2 separate regions of the Homo sapiens genome follow, and region 2 is linked to region 1. The links are contacts of gene promoters, found by promoter capture Hi-C in blood cells and fetal thymus (Javierre and others, 2016). All regions are on one chromosome and are shown on one strand. Each heading gives the region's core, a stretch centred on a gene start or on the middle of the fragment in contact. The rest is flanking DNA. Distances are from core to core; before and after follow the strand shown.

Evidence for each region. The method cuts DNA at HindIII sites, captures the fragments that hold promoters and counts their contacts. A CHiCAGO score of 5 or more calls a contact.
Region 2: a fragment that was not itself captured here is called in contact with the fragment with the promoter of DCLRE1A in region 1 in 1 of 17 cell types (activated CD4 T cells); the score reaches 5.3 in activated CD4 T cells.

Annotation. Positions count from the first base shown.
Region 1 is chr10:113,850,569-113,857,649 of GRCh38, reverse strand. It overlaps DCLRE1A (DNA cross-link repair 1A), which reads left to right and starts at 3,568. Exons shown (of 9, transcript NM_014881.5): 1 at 3,568-4,927; 2 at 7,006-7,081. The coding sequence starts at 4,468. NHLRC2 (NHL repeat containing 2) reads right to left here and starts at 2,989. Exons shown (of 11, transcript NM_198514.4): 1 at 2,600-2,989. The coding sequence starts at 2,777. RefSeq lists enhancers at 1,805-2,509, 5,796-6,015 and a silencer at 2,520-2,879. The HindIII fragment of the contact is 6,407 bases long and covers 551-6,957 here.
Region 2 is chr10:114,520,056-114,527,136 of GRCh38, reverse strand. The region is part of intron 6 of ABLIM1 (actin binding LIM protein 1); the gene reads left to right. Among named protein-coding and RNA genes, the nearest start is that of AFAP1L2, 120 kb to the right of the region's middle. RefSeq lists enhancers at 1-218, 389-508. The HindIII fragment of the contact is 2,440 bases long and covers 31-2,470 here.

The DNA.
Region 1 (7,081 bases), core at 2,319-4,818:
TTAAGAAAACAAAGTTTACTGCTTATAAATAACTCAATGCAGCTATTACAACTATTAATTATGCCTTGAAGCAGGTATTTAGAATAGCTTTTAGCAACTGAAAGCCAAACTTGGGAGGAAGAAGTAAACAGTAACAGCTAATGATTAACAACAATAACTGTTGTTACTCAATCATAACAAAATTCTAGAAAAAAAAATCTGCAGATCAAACTAGTATTTGGGCCAATTAGTCCAAACTAATGAGGTTTCAGGGTACAGTGACCTCTTAATTATCCATTTTGTTAAAATATTAATTATATACCAGATCAAGTGATCATACAAAACTTCAGACTAATTAATGTATATTTCATATCCTACTTGCAAAATATTTATTAATCTGTCTTCTGTGACTTTTCTGTAAATAGTCAAGAGTGGCTTAGATCAGGGGGTATAGAAAGAATGACTACATCTTAGTCACCGTGCTAGATACTTACCAGGCTTAATAAAATTTATTTTACAATAACAATAATTACAATGAATACAATAAAAAGCTGCTAACATTTAGTAAGCTTTTCTGTGAATTAAGAATTTTACATATATTACTTTCAATACAAATAATAATCCTGAAAGGTAAATAATAGTTCAGTTTTGCAAGTGAGAAATATAAGGCTTTGAGGTCAAGTAACTTGCTCAAAATCACACAACCAACAAAATGGAAATAACAAGGATCTAATTCCAGGTCTCTGTGAATCTATCCATTACACTGCACTGTCTCCTATAAACATGTAAGTCTTCTAAGAAATGAACAAAGCATACAGTTTTTCAAATAAAGTTATGTTTATGACTTCCTGATTATAGTTTACTGCTAAAGAAACCAAGAAAACAGTCATTTCTAGCATTCTGTCCTCAATAATCGGGTCCAGGAGAAAATCATACTGTGTTAAACACAAAGCCTGAATATTTTATTATATGTTTTTTTAGTTATGAGTCACAGAGGTCAAATCTCATGGGAATAAAATACACTCCCTGTAAATACAAACAAGACTAGAAAATAAAAAACATTCCCCAAATCCCAGTTGATGGCCTGCTTGTTTATAACAGTGTACTTACTATATAACTACCTTCTGCACCAAAACTTTTTAAAATCATATATTTGTATAGATGTAAACAATCTTTTAAAGTTTGATGGGATAAGCATTCATGTACCCAATTCTTTTGTAAGAATTCCACAATATTTCAAATCCAGTATAAGATTAATAGCAGGAAAAATAAGCACTTCTCAAGGTGAGTAGTGCAAAAGACTTGGAAAGACACCAATACTCTGTTGTCGGAGGCAGGTTCCGATATACCTCCCATGAGATAACTGAATTCTGCCACATCCAACCAATTAACTATACATGTGGTTTCAGTGTCACGCCAGGACACATGCCAGCACCATCAGGCAAAGCAATGCTACTCCCATCCAAAGAAGGTAAAATACGTTTTCATTTATCATGGCAAGATATGCTTCACAAACATCCCTGCCGGGAATATCTGTTCCTTCATGCTCCAAAAGCTCACATGGCCAGGATTTAAACCCTGGAAATAGGCTATAATTGATTCCGATTTTTAAAAGTATTAGTTTCACGACTTTGAACGGAGAAGCACAGTACAGCTAAGAAACCAGCAAATCCAGGGCCTGTATAATCCAACTGGGGCAGTTATCAGCTGTGAGGCCCTGGGCATGTGACTTAACCTCTCTGTGCTTCCATTTCCTCAACTGTGAAAGGGGAATGATAGGAGCACCTCACTGGGATATAGAGGTAATTGAATAAGGTAATATCTCCTCAAGTGTTTAGGTATCCCCTCAAGTGTTTAGGACTGTGTGTGGCAGGCCGGGCGCGGTGGCTCACGCCTGTAATCCCAGCACTTTGGGAAACGGAGGCGGGAGGATCACTTGAAATCAGGAGGTCGAGACCAGCCTGGCCAACATAGTGAAACGCCGTCTCTACTAAAAATACAAACAAAACAAAACAAAACAAAACAAAACAAAACAACTAGCCAGGCGTGGTGGCGCGGGCCTGTAGTCCCAGCTACTCCGGAGGCTGAGGCAGGTGAATCGCCTGAACCTGGGAGGCGGAGGTTGCAGTGAGCCAAGATCACGCCACTGTACTCCAGCCTGGGAGACAGAGCGAGACTCCGTATCAAAAAAAAACAAAAAAAAACCCTGTGTGTGATACATGAAAAAGTGATCAATAAATGTCAAGATGATGCAGAAAGATGACCAGAAGACACTGGGGAACCAGATTGAATGGACAGAATGGTGTGGACGTTGCAATCATTGCCACCGGGGACACTAAATATTCACGGAGTGTCCACTTGGCTAATATCAGGCGCGGGCGGAACTCAGGATACACAGACGAGTATGTGGATCCCCGTGCCAGGGAAACCCCCGTCGGTGGCCGCTTGGGGACCCCTGGGAATTGCAGAACACGCGAACAGCGGCCCAAGTTAGGCGAAGGGCCACTCCCCGGGGCGCCAGCGGCACAAACCCGCCTAGCCCACCGCTTCGCGGGAGGGCGCCGTCCCCGAGGAAGGGGAGGTGCCGGGAGGGGCCCCCACCCCGACGCCAGCCCCTCACCTTCCGGAAACTCGGGTACTGACAAGTCCTGCTCCCAGCCGTCCACCTTCTGCAGATACTGGTAGACCAGGCTGTCCTTCTCCTGCTGGGTAACGGCGTCGAGCAGGGCGTACTCTAGCGAGGTCTGCGCGGGGAGCAGGCCGGAGAGGCTGCGGCCCCGGCCTCCGGGCGCCGCCATGTTTCCGCCGGGCTCCCGATGCGGCCGCCGGGCCCGCGGGAGAGTCTCGCTGGGAGAGACGAAACGTTCACTGTCCTGTGGTTTCCAAACGGCGCATTCACCTCACCCTCCACTAGCCCCACTCCACGCCAATGACACTTTTTTCTTTTTAAAGCATAGGTCCAAGTGCCAAAAGTCCAAATCGGCGCAGTTCCCGGGGACGTAATTAAACTGCCGTCCGACCCACCCCGCCCCTTTTCGGTCCCCACGCCGCAGCCGAGCCTGGACATTGAGAGCGTCAGATTCAACATGGAATAAGGCCTTAGGGACAGCGTCCCAGAGGCGCTAAGGGAAACATCCCCAACCCTCCACATTGGGAATTAGCGGACTTTCGAACACAAATAAAATACAATAAATCCGTAGGACTTAAAAGGGCAATGTATTTTTAAAAATTATTTTTAAAGTCTCTCTCTTTGAACAGCATCCGCCGATTCGACACGGCACTGGCAGCGGGAACTTGTTCCCGCCAAGACCCTAAAGGTAAAGCGGGTAGGGATAACCTCCAGAGAGAAGGCTTTGTAAACTGGAAGTGACTGGCGCGAGTGGCTTTCACTTATACACAAACACAGCGTTTTGTCATCTGGGAGTGCTGAAAGTGCGGGCGCGAACACATTTTTAGATGGGGGTGCCGGGAGGAGCGGATGCAGCTGGAGCGGCTCCCTTGGGGTGCCGAGTGGCAGGTGGGGGGCGGTGAGGGTCCTTGAGGGCGGGCCTTAGAGTCTTCAGAAGGGCAGGACTCTGAGGGCTTTTTGGAGCTCGCTATGCTTAACCTGGAGATGATTAAGGCCCCGCTTCCTGGCCTCCCAGCCTCTAATGCCAAAAGATAAGGGAGAGGCTGGCGTGTGACCCCGTTTTGAGTCAGGTGGACAGAGGGCTGGCCACCTTCGGAACCATGGGTGCAATACGGAGTCAGACCTCAATACAAGCCCACTCTTTCACATATTTGAACTTTTTTCACATATCAACTTTTTTTGTTCACTGTGCAGGGATTGTTCATTGCTGCTGGAGGAAGATCATGGACTGTCGCGGGAAACTGAAGTGGTTGAGTATCCACTAGTCGTGGATGAGGGCAGTGACTTCGCAGTTTTTTGCGAATTACACATCTCTTTGATTATGTTGTGACTAGTTTTGTTAGATAGTCATTTAGTGTTTGGGATACCTGTTAAGCCCTTTGTCCAGGGACTGTGGTTGGATTTATGAATTATTTGGACGGTTGTCCACTTGAAAGAACTGACAGTAGCTTCATAACAATGTTACAAATCTCGTTCTAAGATTAAGCTGTTGAACCTATATTTGCCATTAGCGCTTAATTTTTGAAGTATTATTTTTATGAATCAAGCCCTGGAAAAGGACAAGATATTTGAATGAAATAGCACCCATAATGGAGAACTTCACAGTTGCTACTCCTGTGATAGGTTTATCTTAGTTTCATTGTGGTATAAATGGAATAGCAGGTGTTGTCAGGTACAAGGTTTGTAGCTTGCCAATATGTTCATTACCAACACTGCAGATTCCCATTGAGTTGGTGGGGGTTTTGTTACCTTTGTTTTTTTTCTCAGCAAAATAATTCTATAACTTTTTGTTTGTGACAAGAAATGGACTTTCAGTTTACTTAAGATTAATACTTCTTGAATGATAAAATCATTTTGCCATGTTAGAAGACATTTCCGAAGAAGACATTTGGGAATACAAATCTAAAAGAAAACCAAAACGAGTTGATCCAAATAATGGCTCTAAAAATATTCTAAAATCTGTTGAAAAAGCAACAGATGGAAAATACCAGTCAAAACGGAGTAGAAACAGAAAAAGAGCCGCAGAAGCTAAAGAGGTGAAGGACCATGAAGTGCCCCTTGGAAATGCAGGTTGTCAGACTTCTGTTGCTTCTAGTCAGAATTCAAGTTGTGGAGATGGTATTCAGCAGACCCAAGACAAGGAAACTACTCCAGGAAAACTCTGTAGAACTCAAAAAAGCCAACACGTGTCCCCAAAGATACGTCCAGTTTATGATGGATACTGTCCAAATTGCCAGATGCCTTTTTCCTCATTGATAGGGCAGACACCTCGATGGCATGTTTTTGAATGTTTGGATTCTCCACCACGCTCTGAAACAGGTAAGACTGCAGAAAACGTAGTAGTTTCTAAATAATCTAAAAAGTCTTCATTAGGTCAGACATACCAATTCAGTGAAACAAGGAAGGCAAGCAGTAACCTAAAAGAGAGATGAGACACTGGGAAACACCATACCAGTCAACGGTATAATTGTAAAGCAAATGGCAGACTAGAAAACAGTTTAAATACATTGTGTTATTTCATAAAAGTTCCTAAGTATCTGGATTATTTTCCATAAATGTTAACTGAATCCTTACTATGCTGGGTACTTTCACACTGTCTACTTACCCAACTTTCACAATCACCATATAAGGTAGCTAGTATTGACATTTTATAGATGAAAGTTCTTAAAAGTCAGATAACTTGTCCAATTGGTTATTTATTTTTTTGAGACGGAGTCTCTCTCTGTTGCCCAGATTGGAGTGCAGTGGCGCTATCTTGGCTCACTGCAAGCTCCGCTTCCTAGGTTCATGCCATTCTCCTGCCTCAGCTTCCCGAGTAGCCGGGACTACAGGCGCCCGCCACCGCACCCGGCTAATTTTTTGTATTTTTAGTAGAGACGGGGTTTCGCCGTGTTAGCCAGGATGGTCTCGATCTCCTGACCTCGTGATCTGCCCGCCTCGGCCTCCCAAAGTGCTGGTATTACAGGCATGAACCACCGCGCCCGGCCCCAGTTGGTGGTTATTATGGAACTCCATAGAAAATTATAAATAGGCTGGGCACAGTGGCTCATGCCAGTAATCCCAGTACTTTGGGAGGTGGAGGCAGGCGGATCACTTGAGCCTAGGAATTCAAGACCAGCCTGTGCAACATGGTGAAACCCCATCTTTACAAAAAAAATTACCAAAAATTAGCCAGGTGTGGTGGGCTACTTGGAAGGCTGAGGTGGGAGGATCACCTGAGCCCAAGAGGTCGAGGCTGTAGGGCCCTGTGATCATGCCAGGGCACTCCAGCCTGGGTGGGGCGACAGAGGGAGACCTTGTCTGAAAAAAAAAAAAAAAAGTATAGATATAATGTGGTTTCTAAATATGGTTATGTTTTAGTCATCGTGCTATGTATACAGGAAGAGGAACTGTGAAGGAGTCCTAGGTGATTAAGATTCTAACAAAAAACGTGTCAAATGATAATAAAAGTATGCTATGTTTTTTATCTTTTAAAATATGTAATAAGTATTTAATGTAGAAAATCCTACTTGGAATACATATGGAGAACAGGTTGTTGTGATGATTTATATATTTTGAAATCATTTATATTCCATATATGGATTTTTTTAATCTGAAAAAGTTAAAATTCAGTAAAATAAAAAAATACTCAATATGGCTTTCATGTTAGCTATGATTCAGAATACATTTTATTATTAACCTGTAGTTATTTTAAAGTACTGCATGAAGATACAGAAAAAAAACAACTCTTCTTTAAATTTGGCATTAGCCTTTCCCAGAAAAGGATAGCAAGTGAAAACCTCACAAATTTGCTAGTAATTTTCTTTCATGTAACTTGAAAATCAAGAATGGAAATTGGAGTCCATGGTTGAAGACCTTAGGGTAAAATGTCATATAGATGAAGCCACCTCAAAAAATTTTTCTTTTGGTTTTTCACTAAACTCCTTTGAGTAGACTCTCAGATGGCTCTTGAATTAAATTCCATTCTATAACAAATGCTTTTAAGAGGCATTTTTAAGTTAGGTTGTAAGCCATGAAGTTTTCTAATTTAATATAACAAATATAACATCTTTTTTGAGGGGAGGGAGGTGTCATTTTTTGATAAATCTGGAAATTAACATACACAGGGATATACCAAGATGGCTTATAGAAAGTTTCTCAATCATGGTAGTATGATAGGGAATAGTTTCCAAATTAGTAAAGCCTTATAATTAACCAATTTCTCAAATTCTATTCTTAGAATAGAATCTAAAACTTGTTCAGTGTATCAACAATTATAACTAATCTTATTAAAATTGTTGCTTTTTATTATATGCAATGTGGATATTAAATAATGGAACCCAATTTATACTGCTAATGTTGTCAAAGCTTAGTCTATGCTTTGATCGTGTAATATTTTTTCTTTATTAAAATTTCAGAGTGTCCTGATGGTCTTCTGTGTACCTCAACCATTCCTTTTCATTACAAGAGATACACTCACTTCCTGCTAGCTCA
Region 2 (7,081 bases), core at 1-2,500, 670 kb before region 1:
AAGCCTAAGAATCTCGTTTCAGTACAAGCTTATGCCTCAGGGACAATCACTGTCGGTTTCACATGCAGACAATAGTGAGTGAATGCAAAGAAATGGTACTTTCCTACCTGCATTTAAAAAAAGAAAGAAAGTAAATCTACTCCCCCTCCTTTTTTGGGAACATGGACTGGCCCATTGTGGTTGCTGGTGTGTTGAACTAGTAAGTAAAGCGAGGAGAGGAGGCGTGAGAGAGCGTGCCTGCCCGCCGCACACGGGGCTGGTTTCCGGAGTGCGTCTCTAGAGGGATGCACGTTGCCTTAGCCGAGCTTCGGAGAGAAGCCTGATATGTAACCCAGGCAGGTGGGAGCCTCAGTCTGTCGGGCTGAGGTCTGGCATCTACAAAGCCTCTTGGCCGTGTTCTGAACTTGAAGCCTGGAGGAGTTCTCTGCTCAGCACAGCCAAGGAACAGAATTAGAAGAAAAGGAACCCTGGCCTGAGGTAAAGCGGACATTGCACAAGGTGACCTATGTCCTTTGCTTTGCGTGGCAGATGTGAGATTTCTGGCTTCCTTCGTGAGGTCGGAGGCCGCTCGGATCCTCCAAATGTGGTGGCTGGATGCTGGCGACAGAAGTCACTTTTATTGCCCTGACATACATTTATGTAAACTTTTTGTTTTCCTGATGATACAAAAGAAACGACAGGAGCTTTTGTTCATCGATACAGAACTAGACTGAAGGGCAGGAAAGGCTGGTTATTTATTTCACTGAGAAGTGTAGTGCGTTGACCTTTTAAACAAGGCTTATGTTTTTTTAGGCTGCTACCCGCAAGATTGAAAGGAGACTGTGGTTTTCAGACTTTGGGGTTGTTTTGTTTTGTCTGTGGTTTGTAGAGCTCTGTGAAATTTACATTTGAGTCCTGTTTGGGGGATTTGGTGGTGGAAGTGGCACGTGGGAATGAGTAGATTTAGCTATTACTGTAAATTATGAGATTTTTTTTTCTTTAAGAAATACCCAATAAATGAAAATAAGGAAACAAAATGTTTAGATGTTATTCATGTTTTATTGCGGCTCTAGGTTGAAAGAGCTTGACAATTGCCTCTCTTTCCACCTTTGATATGCAGTAAAAGAAATCTAGAGATTCTGGCCTTTATATTGAAAATAGTTTTCCTAAAAACCCAGTTATTAATCGAATCATACTGTAAAGACTTTTTTTGGGGGGAAAGTGTTTTAAAATGTGCTATACTAGCATGAAAGAAGAAATGGGACCAGAAAGTTATTTCATCTGTGAAAAAAATAGATTTATGATGTTGGAAAAGAAAAAAAGAAAACGTGAGTTTGGCCATAAGCCAGCAGGAGTGTGGTCGCTATAGCAGCTTCATTTGTCACTTAGCTGAGATTGGAGACTTAAAAGAAAACTGAGCCTGTTTTTCTCTCAGACAGCCTCATAAGGAATGTTAAGAGGATGTGAAGTTATTTAGATTACCAAAACAGGTTCTGACAAGTAAGTGAAAATAACTCATTAAAATATAATTGTTGCCATTCTATAAATGGATCAAAAGGCTTGTTGAGTCACTGCGTACTTATAGAATAGGTGAATTTGCCACGGCTCATTGGTATAAATTACTTTTGAGAAGGCTTTTTAAGACTAAGCGTGAGGCCTTGCCAAGCATCCCTTATAACACTTAGAATGTTTTGACCAATGTTTTCGAGGCGGTTGCCTAAGCATTTTCATGTGTCAGTGAGTCTAATCCTCGCATCAGTGGCTTATCCAGTAAGCTCAGGGAATATTATATCCTGACAACAGAAGCCTGCAGATTTTTCTCTTCAACTAAACAATAGCTCACCTAAAAGGACAGAAAGTGAACTACTCAGTTCTTGTAACCTGACTTTCTGGAGGGATGGTCATGATTTTGGCTCCTGTAGAACAGGGTTTCTCAACCTCAGCATTATTGACATTTTGGATGGGATTATAGTTTGTTGCAGGGGACTGTCTATGGGATGTCTAGTAGCATCCTTGATCTCTACACACCAGGCGACAGTAGCACTCCCTCCCCAGCTGTGAGAACCAGAGATATCTTCAGACACTGTTAAATATTCCCTGTGGGCAAAATGCCCCTGGTTGGGAATCACTGCTAGAGGGAAACCTGTCTTGGGGCCTACTGCTGCCAACGAGGGGGAAGGGTCTATGAGAGGAGGCTGGAGTCCCAGGGAGGCCTGGCGGGGTCCAAGGAACAGTGGCAGGACAGGTGTTTTTGCCTGACCATTTGGTTTTTATTTTGTTTGGGTTTTGTCTGAAATCACATCTTGGGAATGGGGTATCAGATTCAAGGACTTGCTGCGGATATACATTCTTCTGCCCCCTTTTCCTTCTGTGCCCTTGTGGGACTTATTTTATACAGTGCTATGATTGGTATAGTAGTCAAACTTCTTTCAATTGAATTCTAAAGTGCATTCTGGGGATATACTATTTTGTCTTTTTTTAAAAAGAAGCTTATACAGTGATCCATTTTATAAAGCAAATAGTTACCCATACTTTTCCCTTCTGTAAATATAGAGTTTTTTGTTGTTGTTGTTGTTTGTTTGTTTGTAATGTGGGTTTTTAGTAAATCTGGCCATGCCTGTTAGTTTTTTTTTCTTCTAGAATCTGCAAGTGAATGCTTTCATTTCTTTTTTCTTTTCGCCATCTGTACCAGTGGGTCTCAAACTGTTTTGATTTTTTTAGGAATTGGGCCTTGTTTTGTGAGTGCAATTGAAGAATCACAGCTTTTTTCCAATTTACAGATAACGATGAAGTCAATGGCTGGGATTTTTTCCGTTTAAAATTTTTCTTACACCTTTAGCATTAATGCTACTGCTTGTTTGCTCTCAAAGGTTTACAGATTACAAAATGCATGAAGCTGCGAGTGCTGCTTTTTCTTGGTGTTTCTCCAAGAATATAGTACATTGCACTGAGCACCGTGACTTCCAGGAGCTACCACCACCACCCAAACCAGATGAGATGTACCACTGCATAGTGCTTAGTGGTGCTTAGCATTGGCTGAACAGATAGGGAAACACCTTGACTTATTGAAGTCTATTCTTGGTGACAGACCTGGACTGGCCCATAATGTTATCAGAGAGCTGTGGTTTCTGCTTTTGATTGCAAAGCAAATCTTGCATTTCTCTCCACCTGGAGGTACCAATGTGACACACACCATGTGCTCTCTAAGTAACAGTTCTTCGTAATTAAAATTCACCCTCTCCCCCCATTCAGTAGACCAAAGATCCCTGAGTGCAGCAAATGTGAGCATTTTAGGTCTATTTGCCCCCAGGATATAGCACAGTGCCTGCTCATACTATTTGCTCAGTCATTGATGAACAGACAAATGAATGTCAATGATTTCTATGGAAAGACCACCCAGGAGCTTGGTCAGCAAGCCACATGTCTGCAGCCTGTGTCCATATTTCTGTAATTTTTTAAAGAGGACAAATCCAGTCACCATCTAAGCAGGTTTTAATGTCTGAGGGGCTACCAGAAAACTCTTTGAAGGATGCAGGAAGAGTGGGTCTGTGGGTTGTAGAATTTGGGCCTTCATAAGGCCCAGAAATTAAATTTCTGCTCTTATTATAAACCCCACAGGTTAATGCTTCTTCATGGTTTCAATAAGATAAAGAGCACACTAACCATAGGGTCTGACCCAAAGGCAAGGTATTTACCACCTCTTTAAGAAAACTCGCCAGTTGAAAGAGCTTATGATCAGAGGTGAAAAAACGGCCCTTGTTGATCTATGTGTCCTGTGGGGAGTCAGGTGGTGCTGCCCAGAGAACCTACCTGGTTCTCTGAACCAGGTTATCAGGGCAAGGGGGGTGCAGATGGGGCAGATGTCTTGAAATTGGAAGTTTCCAGACTGTGCAGAATGTAAAGATGCCGTAGTGAGAGACAGAGAAGCCAAAGATCCTCTCAATCTCTTGCTTTGGTTCACAAACCAACCCCAGCTCCATGGATTTTTTTGTTTTGTTTTGTTTTTTGAGATGGAGTCTTGCTCTGTCACCCAGGCTGGAGTGCAGTGGTGCAATCTTGGCTCACTGCAACCTCCACCTCCTGGGTTCAAGCGATTCTCCTGCCTCACCCTCCGAGTAACTGGGATTACAGGTGTGTGCCACCATGCCCGGCTAATTTTTTGTGTTTTTAGTAGAGATGGGGTTTCACCATGTTGGCTAGGCTGGTCTTCAACTCCTGACCTCAAGTGATCCACCCGCTTCAGCCTCCCAAAGTGCTGGGATTACAGGCGTGAGCCACCGCACCTGGCCTAGCTACATGCTTCTAAGCAGAGCCCTGGGAATGAGCAAGCGTGAGCCTTTCTTGTACCTTAAGCTGCAGAGGCTTAAGGTGCAGCCTTTGACGGGAGGGGACCTTCATCAAAGAGGAAACAAACCCTGCTGCTTTATTATTCGCCAAGCCTGGAATGTTTTTAGCAAATACGTGTTTGTGTCCTTCTCAGCATTGCTGGTTCACACTGAGGCCATTTGTTGCTCATAAACACTAGATGAAGCAAAAATACTTGTTTACACTTAAGACTGCTTTTATCTTTCCTTACTGCTGAATAGTAATTTTTTACTAGATTGTCTTGGTTCTGTGCAGCTGGTTCCTTATGTCTGTGCTCATATCCGTATACCTTGTCCAAATAAACATACTTGAAAACATAGAGAATTGTGTTTTGTGAAGTTTAGAACATCCTCTAACAGAGTTTAAGCTGAGCTTTCTGCTTTGTTTTGGCAACTTGTTTAGGATGCCAAATGTATCTGGTCTGGCAACAGATGAAAGAAGATGTTGGCCCTTATATAACGAAGTTTAGGGAATAAGTGGGGGGTGGGGTGGATTGCCAGGTTTCCTTTGTGGTTTGAAAAGAGTTCTAAAGCATGAGGAAAACATGTGTTCGACTGGGTTTTTGTTTTGCCTTTAAACCTTGGAATTTTGAAAATCTGTTGAAATATCTTCTCCTGGCTTATGCAGCCCTCTGAGATTAAGTTTCTGATTACCTACATCTTCCCTCCTCTTTCATTCCAGCCCTGCTAGCCTTCTTTCTGCCCCTCAAGCACAGACACTGTCCATCTCTGGGCTTTCACTGCTCCCTGAGCCTGGCACATTCTTCCTCCAGATCTTGGCTTCCTTCTCATTATTCAACCTGCCTCTTTTGACTTGGAGAGGTATCCTCTAATCACCTAGCTAAAGTTGCTTCCACCTGCCCAACCCCTAGGCCATCTTCTCTCCCCTGGTTCTGTTTTAGGTTCTTCATGGCACTGTTCCCCGACTATCTGGAATTCTTATCTGCTTGTATCCATGTCTAGTATCTGTCACTCATTGCAAGAATGTATGCTTATGACAGGTACTATCATATCCCCGAAACTAAAACATCATCTGATAGAAGGTTGGTGCCCAATAAGAGGATGAGTGGATGGATAGAAGGATGGATGAATGGGAGGGAAAAGGAGAGGGAAGGAAGGAAAGAAGGAGCGGGGAAAGGAGGGGGGTTGACTACCGAGTAAATTTCTACTCTCTTTTAAGTCTAAGAGCTTCTCTCCTGTGATTCCTCTTTGACTCCCCAAGACAGTAGCCTTGGAGAATTTTCTCCCCACACCCACCTCACTTTGTACATTACACTAACCATCTTATCCAGTTACAGTCACCTGTTTGCTAAGCTCTGCATACTAAGCTCTTGAGGACAGGAATGTGTAATAAAGGTGGTTATGGTTGTAATTATTGTTTGTTCTTATTGCCTTAGCACTTTATAAGCATACTTCATCAAAGTCCTTTCATCAACTCTATGGCTTGAGTATGACTCTCATCTTTGTTTTGCAAGTAAGTAAACTGAGGCCCAGAGCAGTTGCCGAAAGGCGTACAGATGATTACTGCAGGGCCAGGAATTGAATACAGATTTCTTCTTGGTAGCGCAGATTATACAGCCTTTCTTTCCTCCTCATCAGGTGTCCAGTGCCTGACCCACAGGTTCATCACAGGCTTTTGCCAAATGAATGAAACCTAAGACCTCACCTCCTCCCTTCTCATCCCTATTATTTGAGCTTATACATATTATTTATACTATTTATAAACATAAACATGAGCCTATCAGTTCATAATCCAGTGACATCTCTAAGGATAACTAGCTGCTGTATCTTAAGTCACTTATTTTTATTGTTTTTTTAGAAACAGGGTCTCACTCTGTTGTCCAGACTGGAGCACAGTGGCACAGTCATAACTTACTGCAGCCTCAAACTCCTGGGCTCCAGAGATTCCCTGCCTCAGTCTCCTGAGTCCCGGGACTACAGGTGCATGCCATCATGCCCAGCTAATTTTTTTTTATTATTATTTTTTAGAGACAGGGTCTCACTATGTTGCCCAGGCTGCTCTCTTAACTCCTGGCCTCAAGTGGTCCTCCTGCCTTGGCCTCCTGAAGTGCTGGGATTACAGGCATGAAGCACCACACCCAGCCTACGTCATTTTTCTTTCTTTCTTTTTTTTCTTTTTTTAACCGATAGGACGTCATTGATTGCTTAAACCCTCTCATTCTTCTTATGTAAACAAATCTATTAGTCAAAAGTTAAGCAGCTGCTGAGTCACATGGCACTTTAATCCAGGGTTACAATTGGCAGCCCTGGGAATGAGTTCTCCTTTTTTTAGCTCCCACGATGGCACTGATTTCCCCTAGAATATGAAACTTACACCAAGGAAACCACCATGACAACTGTAGGTAGCAATTTCAAGCAGAAAAGACTAGGAAAATGCCTAAGAATTTTAAACCTGACAGAGTTCTTCTACATTTTTAATATAACCAAGTGCTGTTCATCACCTGCCTTGACACCGGTGTTTGTGAGGTTGATTGGCCCCAGGATGTTCCACTGCAGAACAGAAGGCCAAGATCAGAAGCCCTTGTCGACATATAAATGTAATGCTGTAAGCTGGCTTGGAGCTGTGACTCCATGGAGCCAATTCTAAAATGATTAAGACTTCTGTCTATAGAGAGTTGAGGTGGAGACTGTTTACTATGGCCCTGCCCAGAGGCTTCAGCAGCTGAGGGTGTACCCTCTGCAGTGGGAGTCTTCAGGCATGAGCCTGAAGCCTGTGC